Linked DNA regions of Homo sapiens: region 1 is linked to region 2. The links are contacts of gene promoters, found by promoter capture Hi-C in blood cells and fetal thymus (Javierre and others, 2016). All regions are on one chromosome and are shown on one strand. The core of a region is centred on a gene start or on the middle of the fragment in contact, and the rest is flanking DNA. Distances in the headings are between cores, read along the strand shown. Region 1 overlaps RAI14 (retinoic acid induced 14). Region 2 holds the start of RAI14 (retinoic acid induced 14).

Region 1 (6,265 bases), core at 1,560-4,059, 51 kb after region 2:
CTAGCTACATGTGTCTGTCTAGCATGTAAAATATGGCTAGAGCTACTAAGGAACTGAATTTTTCTTTATTTCTTTCTTTTAGAGACAGGGTCTCCCTTTGTTGCCCAGGCTGGACTCGAACTCCTGGGCCCAAGCAATGCTCCCACCTCACCTCCTGAGTAGCTTCGGACTATGGACACATGCCACCATGCCTGGCTAATTTTATTTATTTTCATAAATTTAAATTTAAAAACAGATACTCAATGCAAATATTGGAAAATGCTTAAGTTTGGAACAACTTGGGTATGTGAATTTGTTTTTTCAACTCTAAATCTCCTGAAATCTAAATAGATGTCAAGTATTTGCAATAAAAATGTAGCATGGGAATTGAGATGTACAGTAAGTTTACAGGATTTTTAAAACCTAGTATGAAAAAAAGTAAAATATCCCAATAAGAGTTTTCATGGTGATTTCATGCTGAAATCATCATATTTTGCCTATATTGTTATTTTAAAAATATATTATTAAAATTAATTTCACCAGCTTATTTGTACTTTATAAAATGAGGCTATCAGGAAATATAACATGTGGCATTATATTATATATCTCTTGGATAGCACTATGTTAGATCCTAAAAGAAAACTGAAGTGGAATGATACTGGTTACATACTGCTCTCTTAATTAACATAAACAGATGTGAGCCTTTATACCCAGGAGTCACCAGCCCCCCTGCATTTGCCTTTGTGGACAGATGTGTAACCAGTTTCCTTTTTTCTTTTTATTTTTTTTGTGACAGAGTTTCACTCTTGTTGCCCAGGCTGGAGTGCAATGGTGCGATCTCAGCTCACTGCAACCTCCGCCTCCTGGGTTCAAATGATTCTCCTGCCTCAGCCTCCTGAGTAGCTGGGATTACAGACATGCACCACCACATCCGACTAATTTTGTATTTTTAGTAGAGATGGGGTTTCTCCATGTTGGTCAGGCTGGTCTCGAACTCCTGACCTCAGATGATCTGCCCACCTTGGCCTCCCAAAGTGCTGGGATTACAGGCATGCGCCACCACGCCCAGCCCACTTTCTGTTTTTCTTTAGGTTTATGCAAACATCCCCTGTATTTGCTCTCTGTCCTCTGAAGCTGCTGATTTAACATCACTGATTTTCCGTATGGAGCATCTCAATGAAATGCATTTTTAAATGCTGTGATTTTGGACTTTCTGTGTTTTTTTTCTGTGAAGGTTTTCCTGGCATAGGAATGTAATTGTTCTGCCCTAGTGTTATTCTCTGTCCATAGAAGGGAGTTACCATTCTTGGAACTCAGATTTATAACCACTTTCTTATTTTCGTAATGCCTCCTAATATACTTTTTAAAAGGGACTTAACCTTCATATAATTCAGTTTTCCTTAAAATGTTTAATCACCCACTTTAGCAGCCTTGGCTTTGTGTGACTCATGGAATATGTGTATCATTTTATTTTTAAAACTTACTCATTAAACTGAGGACAATGAAGATTTCTTAAAAGGTAAATATAAATAGAATGTCACTTAAGGATTATTTTCTGCTTTTATATGGTTTTTCCCATATTTTGAGGGTTCTTGCTCAAAATATCTCAGGCTGACTAATGAATTTTAGGCTGATACTTAGACATTCATGTTAACATTTGAAAATGATACTCGAACCCGGAGTTTGGGACTTAATGGAAGAAATGTTTTATTTCGGAACTTTATTACATTGATGTTGGGCCTATTGTGTGATTATACTGTATCACAGGAGATTGCAGGCTTTTTATTCCTGATCTGTATAGTTTATTCTTTGTTGCTGCCTCCTATTACTGCAGGAGGGGTTTTCTCTGCTTGAAACACCAAGTTATCTGGACCATTTTAAGGGCACAGAAATAATACTTGTGCCCTTTTTGTATATGCCTCATGTGACTCCTTGACCTTGAACTTTGTATGATGGATGGCATTTCATGAAAAATAGCCCTTTTCTACCCCAGAAAAGTTTTTCATCTTCCTTAACAAGAGGCAATAACTGAGTCAAGACCATCAAAACTTGCAGCTCTTGCCCTACCCCGCATCAAATTGCAGCATATTGAGAGATGATAAATATGTAAAACATGAAGCCAGAGAGGCAAAGACGTCAGCTCAACATTTTACTGTTACTTTCAGATAGCATCAAAACTTGGCACATGATGTTGTGGACAGAACCGCAGGCTATATTTACTGATCTTGGTTCTGCCAATTACTTGTGTGTGACTCCTGCAAGTCAGTTAGCCTCCCTGGGTTTCCACATGGGTGAAATAAGATGCTCTTGGCTGGGCACGGTGGCTCACGCCTGTAATCCCAGCACTTTGGGATACCAAGGCAGGCAGATCACCTGAGGTCAGGAGTTCGAGACTAGCCTGGCCAACATGGTAAAACCACATCTCTACTAAAAATACAGAAATTAGCCCGACGTGGTGTCAGGTGCCTGTAGTCCCAGCTATTTGGGAGGCTGAGGCAGGAGAATCTCTTGAACCTGGGAGGCGGGAGGTTGCAGTGAGCCAAGATCACGCTACTGCACTCCAGCCTGGCGACAGAGCGAGACTCCGTCTCAAAAAAAATGCTCTCAAAAGTCTCATTAAGCTTTAAAATTCTGTATTTCCTGTTCAGGTCTCTTTCCAAGTCCCTCTGCTCCTCATCCATCTTTGTGTCCACTGATAATTGCTTCTGTAAGAGAGTACAAAAGCAGTTCATTTATTTTTACTGGAGTTGTGCAAAGTCCCCCAGGCATCTGGGGGAAAAAAACCACACATCTTAATTGAAGTGTATTCAAGTCTCCCCAGTACCTCGTCAAAATTTATCATCTTCTACTCTTCTATGACATTTCTTGTAATCTCTACTAATTGAGAACAAACAACAGGGAATCTGGTCCTACTGTAAGTTATGATTATAATAACCTTTCCTTGAAATAGACAGTTATTTTTTCACATTTCCTTAAGCACATGGCAGAGCTGTAGACAGGAAATCCTCAAGCCTCTGACCCTCTCTCCAAGGGGAAAATCAAAGCTTTGAAAAAATGGCAGAAGAAGAAAGAGAGGGAATGTTGATACAGGGGCGGGAAAAGAGAAAGAAAGGAAGGAAGTGAAAGTCTATGTCTTTATGTGTCTACTGTATTTATGAGTTTGCTTTGTTTCTAAAGTGGAGTAAGGAAAGGTTATCATGTCAAGAAACTAGATCGTATGAAAGCTAAGCTGCTCCTGAGTGTTATCTAAATATAAAGATATAATTTAATATACTCTTTAGAACCACATTTGAAATAATAAAACCTAAGTATAAGGGAACTTTGGGTTTTTGTTTTTTTTTTTTGAGACCGAGTTTCACTCTTGTTGCCCAGGCTGGGGTGCAATGGCGCGATCTCGGCTCACTGCAACCTCTGCCTCCCGCGTTCAAGCGATTCTCCTGCCGTAGCCTCCCGAGTAGCTGGGATTACAGGCATGCGCCACCTCGCCCGGCTAATTTTCTATTTTTAGTAGAGACAGGGTTTCTCCACGTTGGTCAGGCTGGTCTCAAACTCCCGATCTCAGGTGATCCGCCCGCCCCAGCCTCCCAAAGTGCTGGGATTACAGGCGTGAGCCACCGCACCTGGCCAAAGGAACATATTTTTAAGAAGTCTGCAGAGTTCTGACAGTATAATCATGTCAGCAGTTAAAAAATTGTCAACTAATTAGCCTGCGTCTTTTGTGAAAACAACAAAAAAAAATTTTTAGCTTAAATTTATTTAAAACATATTCCATAGGTTGTGGGTATCTTTGCATTTATATATTTGGATGTTTTGCCAAGTTATAACAGTGAAAATAAAATGTCAGTAGTTAAAAAACCGTGATAAAATTTAAAACCATGGGGGTAATTGATTATAAAAGACCATTATGCCACAGATAAAATAAGTTGCCTGAGAGCCTGCCTGGAGCCATTAGTTAAAACATTGCCAATCTAATAATGATAGAACTGGGCAGCCATGGTGGCTGATGCCTGTAATCCCATATCTTTGGGAGGCTAAAGTGGGAGGATCGTTTGAGGCCAGGAGTTTGAAACCAGTCTGGGCAACATAGCAAGACCCTATCTCTATAAAAACTTTAGAAGATAACTGGGCATGGTGGTACATGCCTATTGTGCTAGCTAGGCGGGAGGAATGCTTGAGCCCAGGAATTTGAGGTTACAGTAAGCTATGATCATGCTTCTGCTCTCCAGCCTAGGCAACAAAGTGAGACCCTATCTCAAAAAAAAAAAAAAAAAAAAAATTCATTCAGAAATTCAGTTTCTAATGCCAGGCTTGCCTGTAATCCCAGCAATTTGGGAGGCCAAGGTGGGCAGATCACCTGAGGCCAGGAGTTTGAGACCAGTCTGGCCAACTTGGCGAAACCCCGTCTCTACTAAAAATAAAAAAATTAGCTGGGCATGGTGGCATGTGCCTATAGTCCCAGCTACTTGGGAGGCTGAGGCAGGAGAATCGCTTGAACCTGGACGACGGAGGTTGCAGTGAGCTGAGATCATGCCACTGCACTCCAGCCTGGGCCACAGAGCAAGACTGGTCTCCAATTAAAAAAAAGAAAATCAGTTTTTAAAGTAAACTTTCAAAAGTCTGTAGCTACTTTGTGTCAATTCTGCACAAGATGGGTTTTCCTAGTATTGGAATTTTGGAGGGTCTGCCCCTCTCTGTTGACATTTGGAAAAAAACAAATCTTCATTCATATAATCTCAGACAGTTCTTAACCCCACTGCACATTAACATTACCTGGGGAGCTTAAAAACAAAAGTTATTCCTGTTCTTCACCCAACTCCCATACAACTGAATACAATTTTCTGGAGAGGAGCTGGGTTGGGTATTACTTAGGCTCTTTGGAAGATTTTCCTGAGCAGAAAATGTTTAGAAGCACTGATCTAGGATAATAAGCAATCATCTAGGAGGGAAGCCGTGTAGATATTTTGTTTTGATCTCAGAGGCATAAGAATGAATTAACCACTCCTCATTCCCCCAGAGATAATGTGTGGAAAAACTTGTTTTCAAACCATCCCGAAGAAAAGCAAATGTGATTTAAGGCCAGATTGTTTCCAAGTGGCCTTTTGCAGTTCCTTTGTTCTGCATTCAGACTGAGTTGTGCGTGGAAATAGTTTAGGTATTAGTCCATGAACATGGAATTTGACCTTGGTAAGGAAATACATCCTCCGCTTTCCTCACTAACCAATTGTATTCATTTGTTAGGGCTGCTGGAATAAAGTGCCACAGATGGGCGGCTTAGAACAACTGAAGTATACCTTCTTGGGTCTGGAGGCGAGAAGTCTGTGTAGCAGGGCCATCCTGCCTCTGAAGTCTCTGTAAGGAAGAGTCCTTCCTTGCTTATTCCTAGCTTCTGGTTTTGCTGGCAGTTGTTGGAATTCCTTGGCTTGTAGGTGCATTATTCTAGTCCTCTGTCCTTACATGGTCATCTTCTCCCTCTGTATGTATCCGTCTTGGTGTCTAAATGTTCCCCTTTATAAGAACAGTAATTTCTTGTAGTGAGACTGGCTTGTTCCCTTCCCATGGCATAGGCTCTCTGTCAGATATTACCTCAGTATGTGAAAGAACTTGCATGCCTCTTGCTTCTCAAGGCTGGATTGGACTGACTCTAGGGCCCTTAGCCTCAGGCATTTGCTGAGGGGCCACTAAGTGGGTGGAAGATTAGATTTTAGTGTTTCCAAACTTTGTTGATGATGAGAATCACATAAGTTGCTTGTTAAGAACAGGGATTCCCAGGTCCTCTCCTTGAAGATTCTGGTTCAGTAGGTCTGGGTAGAACCAGGGAGCTGCATTTCAGTGAGGATCTCCCTGCACCATCCCTCCACCACCCAGCTCTTGCAGGTGATTCTTATCAATGAGTGAGCTTCAGAAACATTGGACTAAGTGACTTCTGCTCAGCATGCCAAGACTGTAAAGTTTCTGACATGTGTTCTTCCAGCAGAAGAGATTTCTAGTAGACTATTCAATATCTTTCCTCTCCTTTCTTAGTAAAAGAACCTTATCTTTTATTTGGGATGCAGTGAATTCAGTTAAAAGAGTTTCCTAGCCTTCTTTGAACTACGTTTGACTGACTAGGTTTGACCTGGTCAAAGAGAAGTGATGGGGGGTGCTATGGACTGAATGTTTGTGTCCCCTCAAAATTACTCTGTTGAAATCCTAATGCCCAAGGTGACTGGTATTTAGAGATGAGGCCTTTGGGAAGTGATTAGGTCATAGGTTTCATGCGCGTCCGTGTGAAGAGACAACCAAACAG
Region 2 (5,891 bases), core at 1,228-3,727:
AGAGAAAGGAAGGAAGGAAGGAAGGAAGGAAAAAAAGGAAAAGAAGGAAAGAGAGAAAAAAGAAAACAAAAGAAAAGAAAGATCTTGGAGGTCATGTACTTTGATGTTCCCTTCTACTAATGAGGAAAGGGGGAACAGGGGAAGTTAAAACCCTTGGTGAAGGTCAAATGGCAAGTAAGCAAAAGAAATGGGTCAGGAAACCCAGTCTCCTTGCTCTTGGTGCTCATGGCACTACATATTACACTGCTGTTACCTTGATATTTGGATAAAGGAATGCAACATACTGCTCCTCCCAAAAGGTTTTACTACTTTACACAGGTTAGCTGGTCATTTTATTTTTGCTTCTTTAACTCAACCCCTTTCACCTGGGCCTAGTTCTCATCAAAGGGTGGTATTCAATGTATCCAATGAACCCAATTAGCATTTCTAAAACGCCTGGGCAACACAACCAATAAGAAGATGCTATTGAACCTCTTACTTCCCCACTAATCCCCCTGCAGTTGGCAGAACTTAGCTGCCATGCTCAGTCTACAGACTACAAAGTTGCTTTGAGTTTCAAAAGTGGGGATCTGGAAAAGGATCTTGGCACAGCCCAAAAAAATAAGAATACTTTCACAACGATCCCTCATCCAGAGTTAGACTTGCTGACTTTAGAGGGTGGGAGTGTAAACTAAGGAGAATCATATACAAACCACCTATGGGAATCTAAGAGGTGATAGGCTGGTAGGCTCTTTGGAGGTGGCTGGGACAGAGAAAAAAGAAGAGGGACAGGACCTCTGTGAATCAAAGTCAGATGTGCCTGCCTTAGACAATCATTGTTTAATGTTGTCTAATATTTTAACTCCTTCAAAATGTCAACTGTTCCTACAGAATACACACATGTCAAATTTCCAAGACAGCATCATCTACCTGTACCATGCTCCAAATCCCATCCTCCCAGCTGCCCCTACTTGAACCAGACTGACCTGCAAAAATAGAGCAGAAAACTCACAGGCAGTAATGTTCCCCTTAAATACCCTACAATATGTCATTAACAAGAATCACGATGAAACACTATTGTAGAAATTGCCAGCATTAAACCAAAAGAATGTTGGTCAGTTCATGTTTCTTTTACAGTGTGACTTTGTTTGAGAGGGATAAAGGACAGGAAGAGGAGTGTACATCTTGCTTTAGCTGTTCCTCACTTGGCTAAGGAACTTTTGCTGTAGGAAGTGAAGACCCTGCACCTAGTTACAAGGCTTTTGATGCTTGTTTGTCAAGTTCAACTGTTAAAGGGGAGATAGGCTCTTCCCTAGTAGGGAGAGGGAGGAAGGAAAGGGGGATGGGGCGGGGGGAGGGAACAGGTAATATCTGCCATATAAATATTAGTATGTAGCTGACACGTTATAAACTGAGCTGTTAGGGTGAATTTCAATTTTGTTGGAATCGACCTTTTTTCCCTCTTAAGTTCAATTGACTTACAGTAGATCCCAGAAAGAACTCAATACGTTATTTATTCTAGAAAGCTTTCTTCCCTGAGCAAAGGAGGCAGAGCTAACGAGGAGAAGGGAGGAGCTTAGGTGAACAGAACTGAAGTCACAGCTGGTTAGCATGACTAGAATGCATGGAAAAGCCAGCCCAAATTAGATGAGTGGGTAGATAGAGAGCTTTGAAATCCTTGGAATTAATGGTGGAGTCCATCGTAATTGAAAGGTCGGGCCTTAGTGGGCTGGGATAGGGAGAGAAGCTGTCGGGGACCTGGGGCAGTGAGCCTGTACCCCGTGGCTTCTCACACACTATTTTGAAGGCGTTCCCATGCGCAATCTCGCCTGTCAGTTCAGGCTGTAGGTTTCTCCTTTCTAACTCCTGAGCAGAACAACACTGAACGGTGGTAGTCTTGCCTTGCCACCCAATGAGTGCTAGAAAACAGTCACTTCAACCAATTGGTTCAGTCCGGAGAACGTGAGCACATTCTACTTTACTTTCTGTTCAATGATTTTGGAAAACAACCTTTTAGATTCTGGTCAGAAGGGGCTTGGATCCGTGACTTTGAAACACTCGCCACTACCACAAACGACTTTGGAAGTTAATCAGAAATAAACAGTATCTGGGATCTCATCCGTCCTAAACCCAGGGGTCAGAGCGTGGGGGGCTTCCACTAACTTCAGGTTAAGAGGATGAAACAGATCCGCGGAGAAGGGTCCCACGATCCCTGGAGACTAAAAGCAAGCCACGAACAGCCGGGACGCGCGGGCCGGGGAGATGCGCCGGGGGCTGGAGGGCGGAGAGCACCCCCCGCAGGTCCCGGCCAGAGCCCGGGGCCGGGTCACCTGACTCGCGGAATTTGGGGCCGCGAGGGGTGGAATGGGAGGGGAATGGTTAGCGCCTCCCTTCCCGCTCCCACTGGATCCAGGTCGGCGGGGGCCGGCGCCCGGCGGCCACGTGGTGGTGCTGCCGCTGCCCCCGCCCCGCCGGCCTAGCCCGGGAGCTCGGCGCCCACTGACCCCCGCAGCGGGGGAGGAGGAGGGACTGCGGCGCAGGAAGCCGAGCAGGAAGCGAGCCCGGCGGCCGCGTTTTCCTGGGGAAGCGGCGGGCGGGGTGGAGCAGCCAGCTGGGTCCGGGGAGCGCCGCCGCCGCCTCGATGGGGTGAGTGCGCGGCACGGAGTTGGGAGGCTCCCGGCGCGGGGTCCCGGGCTCGTGTCCCCGCCTTTGTGTCTGGAGCTCGGGCGCGGGAGGCGCTGGGGACGGCGCCCGGGCGGAGCGGCTGAGCGGGCTGCAGCCGGGGTCCCGCCACCTCTCCCTGGTCCACCGCCGGCAGCCCACTGTCTGCGGAGAGCAGATCTGGGGACAAGAGGAAGGAGAGGAAGGTGGAGATGAGGGTAGAGCGGGAAGACCCGGCCAAGTTAGGAGAAGGGTTCTTCCCGGGTCCTCCGCGACTCGCAGGCCGGCTGGGGCGGGGCGCGGGGCAGGGGCCGCGGCGGAGGGAGCGCGGGTGGGAATGAATGAGCAGACCCGGAGATGCACCCTGGAGTCTGCGCCGGGTCCCACCTGTTTCGCCCCGCGCGGCGCCTCGCTGCCCCCGCGTCGGTGCTGCTGAGCCCAATCCGCCTCCCGGCTGAACTTGGAGGAGGTGGGGAGGGAGGTGCGAGCGGGAGACTCCGGGTGGCTCCCAGGACGCGGGGTCCGCTATTGTTCCTCCTCTGACTCCAGGGAGCCCCTCGGCCGGCCCAAGGGCGGGGGCGAGACCCCTCTGGGCCTGCCCCTGCCCCCTACCTTGTTTTCCCCGCCGCAGCTCGGGGAGAACGGATGCTGGAGTTGGGGCAGACTCGGGGCCGCCGGGACTTCGGGAGTAAGGAGGACGTGGAGCCACCAGAAAGGCGCCCGCCATCTCCCGCGACCCCTGCCTGGTGGGGGGTGGGGGGTGGGGTGTCGTCCTCAACCACCTTCGCTGCCTTCTTGGGCAGGTTGGTGTCGGTTTAGTTTCTGCGGTTTGCAGGGTTGACATCCTAACTCCTTTGAGTTTCGCATCCCCCTTTTGTGGAGGGGGCTCAGAGCCTGGAGAAGCAACAGACGGGGAATTAAGGCAGATGCAGCCCAGCACAGCGTGGAGGGGTCCGAAGTGGCCTCACGGGGGCCTGAGCATGGCTGTCTTTCCAGGCTCCTCTTTATTTGCCAGGAGCCCAGCTAAGCCCAACTTTACTCCCAGAAATGTTGAGGGGAATCTGCGGACTCGAGGCCCCTCGCCTCGGGACCAGCGGCTTCTCTTCGCCGCAGCTCACGCATGATCGGGGTGGGATTCCGTCTTCCTTCCGGGAGAGGAGAATGCCCAGCTGCCTGGGATGGGGAAACGTTGCCGGATCTCTGGGGAATGTGGTCTCAAGGCTGCAGGGGCCTGGCAGAGAGGAACTGTCCATCACTAGGACATAGCCGAAGCTCGCCTTAGCGAAGAGAGTCTCACCTCCTCGGGCTTTGCACAGAGTTGGAGAAGAGGTCGGGAATCACAGGGAGGCTGGATTTTGGCTGCTCTGTCCCCAGCCTGCAGGTCCCTGTTCGCCCTGTGGCTCGGAATTTTATTACTGATGTATATAATCTGATAATCTTTTCTTAATGATGCCTAACAAGTGTGATTTTTTTCCCCCTTGGGTTTGTAAGACAGTTGATTTTATGTGAGGAGATTGATCCAGTTCTTATATTTTAGCCAGTGCTTGTCTAACAGAGATTGGGAGAGCTATCCCGTGCTGGGCTGTTGCACAGTTTTCATCTCCATTCACTGAGATGCTTCAGTAATGAATTTATTGTTTTATGGCTTTTTGGAGATGGTGGTGGTGGTGGTGTGATTATAACCCTGCTGGAAAATCTTATTACTGTTATCTGAATTGAAGAGACAGAAAGGATGCTGAGCCCCCTAGGGATTCCGTAGGGGAATGATGTAGTGTCCCGCCCACCAGTAGTGAACCTGACAGTGAAATTCTCTCTCCAGTCTGCTAGTTTTCAAAGCATGTTCTAGGCAGGTACACGTACTATCACCTAGGCTTTAAAAGTGAAGAAGCAGATTTGGAGGTTAAGAACAACTGGGCCTTGGAATTAATAGAATGCAGTGGACAACTTTTGCCTCTCCTTCCTCCACCCCCTCCCTCCCTTCCTTCTTTCCTTTTTTTTCATCCTTTAAAAATAAAAATAAGGGCCAGGCATGGTGCTTATGCCTGTAATCCCAGCACTTTGGGAGGCCGAGGCAGGCGGATCATGAGGTCAGGAGATCGAGACCATCCTGGCCAACACAGTGAAACCCCGTCTCTACTAAAAATACAAAAAATAAAAATTAGCTGGGCGTGGTGGCACGCACTTGTAATCCCAGCTACTTGAGAGGCTGAGGCAGGAGAATCGCTTGAACCCGGGAGGTGGAGGTTGCAGTGAGCTGGGATTGCGCCACTGCACTCCAACCTGGCGACAGAGCAAGACTCTGTCTCAAATAAATAAATAAATAAATAAGTATGAAATATTTCTAACATACATAAAAACAGAGTATAGTAAGCCATTTTGTCTTCTACTTCCTAGGTTTAATAGTTGCTAATATTTTCATATTTGATCCATACCTCTCCCCCCCCGGAAAAATAAACTATAACTTAAATATTTGATCTATTCCTACTCCTTTGCCTCCATCCTCAGGTAACCTCTAATGTGAAGTTAGCGCACACAGTTCTCAAGCATGTTTGGAACTACACTGTATCCACAAAAAAATACATGTGAGTTTGTGTTTAACATTTTACATAAATGGCATAATTCTACCTATGTATAGCTTGCATTTTTAACTTACTATGTTTTTGAGATACATGTGTTAATAGATCTTTATTCACTTTAGCTGTTACAGAGAATCCCAGTGTATGAAAAAAGTATAGTATATTTACTCCCTTGCCAAGAGTAAGTTAGGGTTTCTGGTTTTTCACTGTTTTTTGTTTGAGCTGCGGTCTCGCTCTGTCACCCAGGCTGGAGTGCAGTATCGTGATCACTGCTCACTACAGCCTCAATCTCCTGGGCTCAAGCAGTCCTCCTGCCTCATCCTCCAAAGTGGCTGGGACCACAGGCACATGCCACCATGCCTGGCTAATTTTTTTCATTTTTGTAGAGACAGGGTCTTACTATGTTGCTCAGGCTGGCCTTGAACTCTCAGCCTCAAGTGAGCCTTCTACCTCAGCCTTCCACAGTGCATGAGCCACTGTGCCTGGCCTAGTTTTTCACTGTTACACTTTTTCTGCTGAGTGACACTCTATTTCCATTTTCATTTTTATTTTTATTTCTTTTTACTATAACAGTTTGTACAATAAACATCCTGAGATGTTTTCTTGTGCACACATTTTTCTGTTACACACTTATTTAGTTAGTTGCTGGGTAATGAAGTTTAGGTAATATTGCAT

The links. Contacts are between HindIII fragments. The CHiCAGO score rates a contact against its expected background, and 5 or more counts as called.
Region 1: a contact is called between a fragment that was not itself captured here and the fragment with the promoter of RAI14 in region 2, in 1 of 17 cell types (endothelial precursors). The highest score is 5.2, in endothelial precursors.

What each region holds. Positions count from the first base shown.
Region 1 is chr5:34,704,897-34,711,161 of GRCh38, forward strand. All of the region lies in intron 2 of RAI14 (retinoic acid induced 14), which reads left to right. LOC124900960 (a long non-coding RNA gene) reads left to right here and starts at 4,506. Exons shown (of 3, transcript XR_007058730.1): 1 at 4,506-5,330. The HindIII fragment of the contact is 423 bases long and covers 2,599-3,021 here.
Region 2 is chr5:34,653,851-34,659,741 of GRCh38, forward strand. RAI14 (retinoic acid induced 14) reads left to right here and starts at 2,478. Exons shown (of 18, transcript NM_015577.3): 1 at 2,478-2,625. RAI14-DT (RAI14 divergent transcript) reads right to left here and starts at 2,323. Exons shown (of 3, transcript NR_183264.1): 1 at 2,143-2,323. RefSeq lists a silencer at 2,436-2,485. The HindIII fragment of the contact is 8,769 bases long and covers 1,504-5,891 here.